Linked DNA regions of Homo sapiens: region 1 is linked to region 2. Evidence: promoter capture Hi-C in 16 types of primary human blood cells and fetal thymus (Javierre and others, 2016). All regions are on one chromosome and are shown on one strand. The core of a region is centred on a gene start or on the middle of the fragment in contact, and the rest is flanking DNA. Distances in the headings are between cores, read along the strand shown. Region 1 overlaps MTF1 (metal regulatory transcription factor 1). Region 2 holds the start of RRAGC (Ras related GTP binding C).

What was found. The method cuts DNA at HindIII sites, captures the fragments that hold promoters and counts their contacts. A CHiCAGO score of 5 or more calls a contact.
Region 1: a contact is called between a fragment that was not itself captured here and the fragment with the promoter of RRAGC in region 2, in 3 of 17 cell types (naive CD8 T cells, naive B cells and neutrophils). The highest score is 5.6, in naive CD8 T cells.

What each region holds. Positions count from the first base shown.
Region 1 is chr1:37,853,090-37,859,296 of GRCh38, forward strand. MTF1 (metal regulatory transcription factor 1) reads right to left here. Exons shown (of 11, transcript NM_005955.3): 2 at 4,162-4,620. The coding sequence starts at 4,569. Among named protein-coding and RNA genes, the nearest start is that of MTF1, 3.4 kb to the right of the region's middle. The HindIII fragment of the contact is 3,485 bases long and covers 2,231-5,715 here.
Region 2 is chr1:38,855,480-38,861,932 of GRCh38, forward strand. RRAGC (Ras related GTP binding C) reads right to left here and starts at 4,293. Exons shown (of 7, transcript NM_022157.4): 1 at 3,931-4,293; 2 at 1,400-1,603; 3 at 229-428. The coding sequence starts at 4,167. It overlaps RRAGC-DT (RRAGC divergent transcript), which reads left to right and starts at 4,414. Exons shown (of 2, transcript NR_186075.1): 1 at 4,414-4,760. RefSeq lists a silencer at 3,823-4,582 and an enhancer at 4,218-4,512. The HindIII fragment of the contact is 4,947 bases long and covers 1,958-6,453 here.

The DNA of each region.
Region 1 (6,207 bases), core at 2,723-5,222, 1.0 Mb before region 2:
ACAACTGTCTCCTAACTAGGCAAGAAGTCTCCAGTTTTCCTCTGCCTCCAAGCTACCTCTGCTGCCAGACCAATCCTTCTAAAATGCTACTCTAACCACATTCTCTATCTAACCACTCTAGCCTTGGCTTAGACACCTCCAATGGTTTCCCACCATTTCTAGGAGAGTACAGTTCAAAACCCATAGAAGGTTACCACTGCCTTCCATGTTTGGATCTTTGCTATCTTTCCATCCTTATCTCCTTCTACTACTATGTTCTAGTCTAAGGGTCAGCACACTACAGCCAGTGAACCAAATCCACCCCACTGCCTGTTTTTGTAAAGTCTTATCAGAACTTGGCCATGTTCATTCTTTATGTATTGTCTATGGCTGCTTTTGTGCTACAATGGAAGAATGGAGTAGCTCCAACAGAGACCTTATAGCCTGCAAAGCCCAGAATATTTACTATTTAGCCCTAAGCAGAAAAAAGTGTGCTGACTCTGTTGTAACAGGACAACTGGCTATTCCCTGAAAATGGCCTGTTTCCCACCTGCATTCCTTGTTTCATGCTGTTCCTCTCTCTTGGAAAAACCTTCTCCTGCTTTTTTCCTAAATTGTATGTATTCTTTAAGACCAGCTCAAACGCCACCTTTTTCACAAAGACTTCCCTGATCCCAGAATTAAGGGTGAGCTTCCCTGTGCTCACAGTGCAATATTTGTACCTCTCCTTCACATTTACCACACTGTGTTTGCTGCTATGATTATTGGTGTAAACAATTTCTGCTTCTATGCTATAAATCGACTACCACAATCATTTGCAACATCCACAGAGCATAACAGCATTTTGCTTTATAAATGTTTGTTGAGTTGAAATGAACCCCCCTACAAGCTCAAATATTGGACTGAAACCAACAAGATAAAATTTCATAGGGAGATATTTTTATTTTTTATTTTTTGAGATGGAGTTTTGCTCTTGTTGCCCAGGCTGGAGTGCAGTGGCACCATCTTGGCTCATTGCAACCTCCACCTCCCGGGTTCAAGCAATTCCCCTGCCTCAGTCTCCAGAGTAGCTGGGATTACAGGCGTCTGCCACCACGCCCGGCTAATTTTTTGTATTTTTAATAGACACAGGGTTTCATTGTGTTGGCCAGGCTAGTCTCGAACTCCTGACCTCAGGTGATCCACCAGCCTTGGCCTCCCAAAGTGTTGGGATTACAGGCGTGAGCCACCATGTCCAGCCGGGAGATATTCTTAATAAGGCTTACATGCAGGTCTCCATTTTCATTTTTGTTAGATCTGACAGCTGCATACATGAGAATAATCTAGAGCAGGGTTTCTCAATCCCAGCACTATCACTATTTTGGGCCAGTTCTTTGTTGTAGGGGGCTGTCCTGTGCACTGTAAAACATTTAACAATGTCTTTAACCTCTACCCACTAGATTCCAGTATCGCCTCCACAGTATGACAATACAAAATGTTTCTAGACATTGCCAAACATCTCCTGAGGGCAAAGCTGCCCGCAGTTAAGAAGCACTACTCTAGAAATTTCCAACTATAAGCTAACAGTAAGATGTTGCTGATAAAATGTAGACTATATAGTAATTGTAGTACAGTGTCCAGATTAAGAGATAAGAGCCATACTGTATTCAGTGCTAGTTGACTCACACTTATGAGACTGCGCTCAACTGCAGATTTTAAAAGGACTCTGGGGCCGGGCGCGGTGGCTCATGCCTGTAATCCCAGCACTTTGGGAGGCCAAGGCAGGCATATCCCCTGAGGTCAGGAGTTCGAGATCAGCCTGACCAACATGGAGAAACCCTGTCTCTACTAAAAATACAAAATTAGCTGGGTGTGGTAGCGCATGCCTGTAATCCCAGCTACTTGGGAGGCTGAGGCAGGAGAATCGCTTGAACCTGGGAGGCGGAGGTTGCAGTGAGCCGGGATCACGCCACTGCACTCCAGCCTGGGCAACAACAGCAAAACTCCATCTCAAAAAAAGAAGAAAAAAAGGACCTTGGAAAACTGGAATTCATATAATCAAAGGTGACTAGGCTGATGAGAGACTGGGGAAAATGTCACAGAGGGACATTTAAGTAAATGGAGGTGGTTAGCCTGTACAAGAGGAAGAAAAATCCATGATCTTCAAATAGCTGATGGACTGTTCTGTGGGAGAAAGTTTACTCAGGAAGGCAGATCTAGAACCAGTGGGCAGCACCTGCAGAAAGGCAGGTTTTGGTTCTATACAAGTAAAAGCTTTCTAACAATCAGAGCTGGCTAACAAATGTATTGGGTTGGGGTATGAAACACTCTGCTCTTGTTGTTCTGGATGTCTTCAAGCAGAAACAAGATTAACTGATGTCAGGGATGCCATAGGGAGATTTCTGCATAGGGTAGGAGGTGGGACAAGATGGTCTCTCTAAGGCTAGCAAAGGAAAAGTGATATGCCATCAATAAGCCATATGCAATTTTAAGACCTCAACCACAGCAAAAAAGATATTCCTTGCTAAATCATTCACCCTATTTCTGTTTGGTAACATCTTAGTCCTTGGTACTGTAACTACTAGTGACTTATTTTTTTCTAATTGACCTGTAATAGTTCCTGGATGGGCCGGGCATGGTGGTTCATGCCTGTAATCCCAGCACTTTGGAAGGCCAAGGCAGGTGGATCACCTGAGGTCAAGAGTTCGAGACCAGCCTGGCTAACATGGTGAAACCTCATTTCTACTAAAAATTCAAAAAATTAGCTGGGCATGGTGGTGCGTGCCTGTAATCCCAGCTACTCAGGAGGCTGAGGCAGGAGAATTGCTAGAACCCAGGAGGCAGAGGTTGCAGTGAGCCAAGATCGCACCACTGCACTCCAGCTTAGGCAACAAGAGTGAAACTCCATCTCAAAAAAAAAAATAGTTCCTAGATAATGTATATCACTACCTTTAAACCAGAACTTTTATTCTGCTAATAATAACCACTAATATAATTTGTAAAATGCTTTACAGTTTTCAAAACATCCTGACATGCATTAGCTTACTCACATTAGCTAAACATGAAAATGAAAACTTATTTTAGATAACCTGCTCTCATTTACTGTCTCTTGCCTGAATTTCCTTTTTTTTTTTTTTTTTTTTTTTTTGAGACTGAGTCTCTCTCTCTCATCCAGCCTGGAGTGCAGTGGCACGATCTTGGCTCCCTGCCACCTCCACCTCCCAGATTCAAGTAATTCCCCTGCCTCAGCTTCCCAAATAGCTGGGATTACAGGCACCCGCCACTATGCCTGGCTAATTTTTCTATTTTTAGTACAGATGGAGTTTCACCATGTTGGCCAGGGTGCTCTTAACCTCAGGTGATCCACCTGCCTCGGCCTCCCAAAGTGCTGGGATTACAGAAAGTGTTAGGATTACAGGCATGAGCCACTGTGCCCAGCCTGAATTTCTTTCTTTTTTTTTTTTTTTTTTTAGATGGAGTCTCACTCTATCGCCCAGGCTGGAGTACAGTGGCATGATCTCGGCTCACTGCAACCTCTGCCTCCCGGGTCCAAGTGATTCTCCTGCCTCAGCCTCCTGAGTAGCTGGGATTACAGCCATGTGCCACCAAGCCTGGCTAATTTTTGTATTTTTAGCAGAGACAGGGTTTCACCATGTTGGCCAGGCTGCTCTCGAACTCCTGACCTCAAATGATCCACCCGCCTCAGCCTCCCAAAGTGCTGGGATTACAGGCGTGTGCCACTGTGAAATAAAAGTTCATTAAACATTCACTAAGATAATAAAACATATTCCAGCAGATACTCATCTCTAAAACAAATCATTTAAACACAACCAGGAGATAAGCCAAATATAGTTATTTCTTCATCAAATAAGCAAACTCCAGTTATTTCCCTGTAGATAAGCTAAATAGTTATTTTAGCACCAGAAACATGGGTCTACTTAAGTGAAATTTCTGTTTTATTTATGATTTGGGGAAGGAAATTCGAGAAATTACAATTTGATATTCCCAAATTTCAATGTGGCTATACAAACCAAAAGTTCCAGAAGCAATCACAACAAAACCTGAGGCATATGTTGTTGATAGCAAAACTACTTAAGTCCTAACCCCATGCACTCCTTTACTCCCCAGCTAAAATTTGCACCAAGAATTTTGTAAGGACTTGCCCCAAAACCAAACTAGGCCCTCACTGACTGCTTTACTTACTTCTTTACGTTTTGTTTCCGGACATTCCGACTGCAGAGTGAGGGTTGCACCTTCAATATTTCTTGGCATGGGTGTGGAACCAGGGTTTATTGTCAAATGAATCTGATCTGGTGAGATAATGTGCTGCACATAACCCTGGGACATTGCTTCATGATCTATCAGGTGAAAGCCCTCTTCACCCCCTACTAGAAAAGGCAAGTGTTCTCCGCACTGTCCGTCGTCATCTTCATCCTCCAAAGTGCCAGGGTCCTGCTCAATAAGAACAGTGGTCCTATCATAAACAGTTCCAGATGAGGAAGGCACCAGTCCGTTTTTATCCACAAACCTGAGCATTTTATCATCGGGGGTCAGCTCATCTTCCTCTGCCTCAAAGTAGATGATGTTGTTGTCTGGACTGTGTTCCCCCATGGTTCAGTTGTGCTCAGCCCAGTTGTGAGAAATGAAAACGTAATGACTTGTCTGCAACAGAACAAAGCCAGAGTTAGAGTCATACCACAAGACCGACGGACCTCCTCAGCAACCACAAGGCTCATTTTCCCTCTCACTTAAAGAGCAAGCCAAAGCAAATGAAAAACCATCCTTGGGAATAATTTTTTTATTTTAACTTTAAAACCATCAAGTCATTTTTAAAGAAAAGCAATGCCGACTGGGCGTGGTGGCTCACACCTGTAATCCCAACACTTTGGGAGGCTAAGATGGGAGGATCGCTTGAGGCCAGGAGTTTGAGATCAGCCTGGTCAACATAGTGAGACCCCCATCTCTAATAAAAAAAAAAAAAAAAGAAAAAGAAAGAAAAGCAATGCTTTTCAAAAACTGAATAAGTTCATAAGACCTTCTGAATACGCCTGTCAAACAATTTGAAACTTGGTCAAAATATTTAAAGGGGACAAAAGAGCAAACAGAACAGCAGCTGCTGAAAGGCTGAGTTGCTACAAATCTTAAGGGAAACTCCATCCATTCAAATATCCTCCAAATCAGACCACGAGGCAGTAAATGGTTTCATGCAGTTTATGGTAGAAGGAGCAAGGCTTTGGAGGCAGAGTCATCTACCTACAAATCCTGTCTTTGCCTTTTACTACATGGGTAACTTTTCTGTGCCTCATTTTTCTTACGTGCAAGGTGGGACCAGTAATTCCTGTTCTCTCAAAGTTTTTATAAGAAATAAAAGAGGCAACATATGTAAAGCACAATGTTTGGTAAATAGTAGAGGAACAAGTATGAATTCCTTCCCCCCTACCTAGAACAGATGTTTCAACCTTCTGGGTGGAAGGGCTATTCCTCAATCAGGCACAAACAACGAAGATCACTGTATCTATTTATGTCCTAAAACAATATGGTGTCAACAAGAAGTTATGGTTCTGTGGTGGGCTCTCGTCCCTGAATCAATTGAGTCTTATTATTTTTGTTTCTACAGCTCCTAGCATAGTACACTGATACTATGATAAGAGTTCAGGAAATGTCAGCTAAATGACTGAAAGACATGGCTACCTACTCTCTCGTGAAGATATACTATCTTGGGAAGATACATTCTCTTGAGAAAAATACCACATTTGAAGCTTTCATGTTCTGGAATAGTGATTCTTCCTTCATCTGCAAACACAGGCTCTACAAATGTGGGTTTGGCAGGCAGAATAGAGAATTTTAAAATAATCAGCACATCCCTTTTAGTTTTCAGTCTGGCTTTGCGCTTTATCTTTCTCTTCTGCTCTGGGTTAGAAAGTGAGCCTTTACTTAGTGGGATGGCTAGACAGTTACCAGAGACAGGCCAAAGGATTGGATCCGGGAGGTACCGGCCCGACCCCTAGCTCTGGCTTACGCAACCCCACAGATGTACATTTCGCTGCATCTGAGCAGAGAGAGAAGAGCACCGAGGGCCCCAGTGGGCTGCCCCGGCACCCTCGGCGGCAACGCGGAGACCAACTGTCCGAAACAAACAAGACCAGGAGGTTTGAGGGTAGCCAACGAGGAGTGCGAACAGAGCCCCCTTGAGAGGAGGCTGGGAAAAGGAACCTGTCTGGGATAGCCCCCAGCACAGGGCTACACAGA
Region 2 (6,453 bases), core at 3,043-5,542:
CAGTGGAAACACTTCACATGACTTCAATCTCCAGGAAAACGCAAAAAGTGGGTAATTTCTCAATATCAGGCTCCCCAGACAGCCTGGAATTCAACAACAAGATCAAAAACATAAAAGATGTGGCAAAGGGCACACAGGTAGCAGAAAGCTATGGTGTTTGTAATGACAGAGATGGGAATACATTTACACCTTGTTCAGGGCTTTCATATCAAACACACATGTTGTTACCTAAGATGGAGTTTTTCTAGCCCAGCATCTGCAAGGTCATCATTGGCCCTTTGATGAATGTCCCTCTGTGTTTCTATTTTGTGATCATCAGACAGACCATCAACTTTGTGAATAAAAACCTCAAAATTCATGTCTGGGTTAACTTTGTAGGCTTTAGAAACAGTAATGTGAAGTCTTGTTAAAGCCTCCATGTAGTCATCCTGTAAGTCAGAACAAAATATTTTTTAAAATAAATCTTACAAAAGCCAAGTAATGAGTTAAAGCCTCAAACCACCTCTTTCCCCAACCACAGAAAAATACTATCCTAATTATCATCAATATTCAAACATTCAAATATACTATACTACTAAATAACTCTTCAATTGTCTCAAGATAAAAAAATTCAATTACCAAGTTAATGCTTGTAATTTTTAATATTAATTTAAGAAAGAAAAAAATGATATGAACATTTTTTCCCAACATAATTTTTTTAAGTAATCCCAGCTCTGCCATTTATTCAGTGTGTCACTTTAAGCAAGCTGCTTAAACTCTGATCTCAGTTTTCTCATCTGTAAGATCAGAATTACAATACCTACCTAACAATATTGTGAAGCTTAAATTAATTAGGTCCTGTACGTGAAGGCACCCTCTGTAGAGCCTATCACTCAGAAAGCATTCTTAACTAATGCTTAAGCTTATAAAAAGTAAGCTTCTTAAAGGATAGGGACTTGCCCCATTCATCTCACTGACTGCCACATGCTAGGCCCTCCATAAATGTTTGTTGAGCTAAACTCAATTTTGACAATTAAGTAAACTATTCACTCTAATATCTACTGACTCAGTTCTCATATTCCTCTTTATGTTATGGGATGGGATATTTTCAGGGAATAACATCACTATTATTATAAAATTATTATAAAATATGGCAACCAATAAAAGTGGAAAGCCAATGTTAGCTGCTCATCAACTAGGACTCAAGGATGTAAACCATATCTCCTAATCATCTGATATTCTGTACCTGCACAATGCATGTCTGCTCCCAAAGCACTCTGCAACTGCATCTCTTACACTGTTAGGGAATCTACTGCCAAAGAGATAAGCTGCAACCACATGACAAAGAAGATAAACAACTTTCCTTTGTTTCTACATCTTTTTCCCACCAGGAAAGAGGAGTAAACACATTACTGACTACCTGTGCGTCAATGACGTATATCAATGCTCCTGTTCCCCTGAAGATCATCTCATAGTCAAAGGTTGGGTCAAAAAAGTCCATTTGCCCAGGAAAATCCCATATCTGGAAATTCACAAAGGAGCTATTGGAAATGTCATCCTTATAAATCTTGTTGGTACTTTCCAAAAAGAGGGTCTCGTTGGGTGACATCTTATGAAACACCACCTGTTAAAAGAAAACAGGCAATTTTATGACTATTAAACTTCAGAATTTAAATTTAAAATTCCACCCTGGTTTAACATTTAAACATTTGATCCCACAAAAAAAAATTTTTTTTGAAAAGTAGAAACTGAATGGTGAATCCATTGGTATTCACTATCCCTTTATTTTTGACAAAAGAAGACACCAAATTAATTTCCATTAAATCTATTTTGGAGCTAAATCTTTTCTCCTATGTTCTATGCACCATACTCAGTACTAATAGTAGCAATCTCTATCACCTCCATTAGTTTTTCTGGGGGAAAGCTAACATTAATTCTACCAAAATCTGCTTTAAGATTATAAAAGTCTTACAGCTAAAGCTTAAGAAGTCTGGTTTATTCAAAAATTACTTGAATGCCTACCTCAGGCTCTGAGGAGTAATTTAAAAAGTGAAACAGACTGGACTCTGCCCTCACTGACTTTGCAGTCTAAGAAGGGCAGTAACTATACCAAGTAGAAAGTGAAAACGTCCAGGGGGAGGCCACGGGGACTGACAGGGAAAAGATAGCTCTCATGAGAAAAGAAACGTAAAGGCAATTGTTAAGAGTCACAATAATCGGCCCGGGTGCGGTGGCTCACGCCTTCAATCCCAGCACTTTAGGCGGCCGAGGCGGGCGGATCACTTGAGGTCAGGAGTTCGAGACCAGCCTGACCAATATGGTGAAACCCCATCCCCACTAAAAATACCAAAATTAGTCGGGCGTGGTGGTGCACGCCTGTAGTCCCAGCTACTTGGGAAGCTGAGGCAGGAGAATCACTTGAACCCAGGAGGTGGAGGCTGCAGTGAGTGAAGATCACACCACTGCCCTCCAGCCTGGGCGATGAGCAAGACTCCATAACAAACAAACAAAAAAAAAAGGATCACAATAATCACAACCTACACAGTTCTAACATAAAACTACTTTGCCTCTTACTGTCTAGAAGAGAAAAGTGAACAATTACTCTCAAGGTTTTCTCAGTAACAAATGTGAATAACTGAAATTAGTTTACTAAAAACCTACAGTCAACGTACCCAAGTTTTGCTGTAGAGGTGAAAATCAAGGTAAATAAAACACAGTACTCCAGCAAACCTGGAAGAACGCTGCTTTTTAAAAAGATCCCATCTACAAAATATCACAGATTCAGAAAGAAAAAAAAATCACAGATTTATTTTGGATAGGCCTTTGCAACAGAGTGGAGAGGTGAAAAGACCAGGTGCCTGCTGATACTAGTTTTATTACCAGCTCACTCCGCGTATAATGGGTTTGGCTGATGGAGGAAGTCAACCTTGCCTCTATTTAACCCTCACTAAACAGTGTAGGCCAGCGTGGTGACTCACACCTGTAATCCCAGCACTTTGGGAGGCCAAGGCGGATGATCACTTGAGGTCAGCAGTTCGAGATGACCCTGGCCAACATGGTGAAACCCCGTCTCTACTAAAAATACAATAATTAGCCGGGCGTGGTGGCGCGCGCCTGTAATCCCAGCTATTCGGGAGGCTGAGGCGGGAGAATTACTTGAACCAGGGAGGTGGAGGTTGCAGTGAGCCGAGATTGCACCACTGCATTCTCCAGCCTGGGCGACAGAGCGAGAGACTCCGTCTCAAAAACATAAACAAACAAACGTGTACAGCCCTCCATTTGTTCATGAAGGCCCAAAAGTGAAAACAAACAGACTAGGTCTGCAAAATATTCTCAAAGTCTCAGATTTTTAAAAACACACCCCTACAGGGGGAACAGCACCAGTAATTACATTCACCAGGCCACAACTACTGAAATGGGTGCAATCTCACTACCCAATTCCCAGTAATGCTACAGCGAAGTCTCCTTCACATCAGTAGCGAGAATTACAACGCCCAGTGTCTTAGTCACAACTCTTCCTGACGCTGCTCCCTGGGGCTCTGCTGGGAATCCCGAAACACTCAGGTCACCTGAAGTGAGAACAAATCAAAACGGGCCAGGGGAGGGAGTCCACGAAGTTCTCCAAGTGAGAACTGGAGAGTACGTCTCAGTTTCGTAAATGACACAGGAGCTGGGTCCCAGGGGGCGGAGGTCTTGGGCGGTGCCACCGGGCACCTGCCTCCCGGCAACCAGTTTCGCCTTCAGCGCTCCACTTGGCTTCAGCTGACTTGGGCGTGGACACAGAGGTCGGGGTCCCCGCGCGGGCCGCGCCTGTGCGCTCGCAAGAGTGGAAGAGAAAGTGCGGAGGGACGGAGCGCAGGCGGGCCCCGGCCGCCGCCCTCCCGGGCGTCCCCGCTACCGGCCACCTGAGAACCGGGGAGGGGGCGGGGGACTGGGCGCAGCCCTGCTCACCTTCTGGATGGAGGACTTGCCGCTGCGCCGGAGTCCCATGAGCAGAATCCTCGGCTTGGAGCTGTCAGCGCCCCCCGGACCACAGCCACCGCCTGCCCCTGCCCCAACCCCTCCGCCCGCCGCCGCCGCCTCCTCTTCCTCCTCCTCCACGCCGTAGCCGAAGTCCTTTGGAAACGAATCGGCCGCGCCGTAACTGCCGGCGAGGGGCGTCTCCTCCGCCCCGTACTGCAGGGACATGGTGCTGGAGCCGCCGCCGCCCGCGCCCTGACAGGCCAGGCCAGGCCGAGCCAGGCCGCCGCCTCCCCAGTCCGCCTCCGCCGCCGCCGCCACCACCGCCACCGCCCCCGGCAGCCGCCACAGTCCGGCCCGCCCCCCGGAGCCCGGCTCTCATAGGCCCCGAGCCGAAGCCCAGCCGCTTATTGGCCGCCCGAGCTGCTACTCGAGAGCAGCAGGGTAGGTGGTGCCCCGTCACGTGCCGGAATCACCTGACTCAGAGCCGCGGAGGGGGGAGGAGGAGTCACGAGGAGGGCGGCCCGGCCGCGCCTCTAGCCCCGGCTCGGGCCCTCAGCCCTCCGCCCCGGCCCGCATACAACGCTGTCTGCACCGCTCCCCTGCCTTCTTCCGGGCTCCCAGAGCACCGCTATGGAGATGCTCTCCCGGCATTTGAGGAAGAATTGATTGTCCTCATCCTGCAACTGTACTTGCCCAACCGATATTTATTGATGCCTGCAGTGTCCTGGGTGCCTACCAAGGGGCACAGAACTGGATCCGACGCAGACCCTGCCTGCCTTCAGGTTGCTTGAAGATGAACAGAGAGATCGGACCTCTGCGTAAGTAACCTCGCTACGAAATATTATGTGGGAAGGTCACGGATAAATAATGCTCGGGAGTTGAATGAGAAAGCGTCTGAGCAGATCTAGGTGGATGGATAGATTGGGATGTGCAAAGGTATGGGGGAGCCAGCCACACTGAGGGCAAACCTCAACCAAGGCAGAGTCATGGGTCACCGTGATAGTTTGTTCTAGCAGGTAGCTGGACCCTGATGGGAAAGCAGATGCAGCCAAGCTAGAACATCTTATCTTCTTTCTTCAGTAAGTCGCCGATAGTGGATACTGCTGCCACTTCAAACCCAACGGGACTCAATTTGCCCTCCTTCCCGCCTTGTCAAAGTCTACTCTAGGAATTCCATCCCCCATAGAACACTGCCTCTTCTATGACCTCGTTCAGATTAGAGACCAAAGTATTGAATAATGAAAGCAAACAAAAGCAAATGCTTGTCACCAAATATGTCCGAGAAATCTAGAGGAATTTTTATTTTTGATAATCAGGCTCTAGAACTGGAAGTTTGAGAAGAGGATCCTCTTAAAGCACAGCCCTATACACTTTTTAAAGTACAGGAGTGGGGGTGCTCCCAGCCCTCCAAGGAGACTGACTTCTTGATTATGAAGGAAAAATTCGCACATGCGGGCAGGTCTGGGACTTTGGTTTTGTCTGAACCCAGAAGTTAGAGGTAGGATACACCCTTAGAGGTCATCTAGCCCAACCTCTCACCTAAAACGAACCAACTCTATAGTGTCTAATAGACATGCAGAATGCACTTAAATAGTTCGAAGGTAAAAGAGCTCACCATCTCGAAAGGCAGCCAACTCCACTGTGGTAAACCTTTGTTTAAAAATTGTTAAAGCCGGCCGCGCGGTGGCTCACGCTTGTAATCCCAGCACTTTGGGAGGCAGAGGCGGGCGGATCATGAGGTCAGGAGATCGAGACCATCCTGGCTAACATGGTGAAACCCCATCTCTACTTAAAAAAATACAAAAAATTAGCCGGGCGTGGTGGCGGGCGCCTGTAGTCCCAGCTACTCGGGAGGCTGAGGCAGGAGAATGGCTTGAACCCAGGAGGCGGAGCTTGCAGTGAGCCGAGATCGCGCCACCGCACTCCAGCCTTGGCGACAGAGCGAGACTCCGTCTCAAAAAAAAAAAAAAGTCTTAAAGCCAAACCACACTCCCTGAAGCCTATAATAGAATAAAATAGGAATAGTCTTCACCTTTTTCATGACAGCCCTTCAAATACCAGATTGCAGTATTCATTACCCACTAAGTCTTCTCTGTTCCTTGCTGAACATCCTCAGTTTCAACCATTCCTATCGTGCTGTTCAATACAACTGATATACATGATAGACATGTTCTTTATCTGCACTGTCAAACATGTAGCCGCTAGTCCTATGAGGAATAAGCACTTGAATTGTTGCTAGTGTAACTGAGGAATTTTTTTTTTTTTTTTTTTTTTTTTTTTTGAGATGGAGTCTCGCTCTGTCGCCAGGCTGGAGTGCAGTGGCGCGATCTCAGCTCACTGCAACCTCTACCTCCCGGGTTCAAGCGATTCTCCTGCCTCAGCCTCCTGAGTAGCTGGGACTACAGGTGCCCACCACCACACCCGGCTAATTTTTTTATTTTTAGTACAGACGGGGTTCCACCATGTTGGCCAGGATGGTTTCTATCTCTTGACCTCAAGATCCACCCTCCA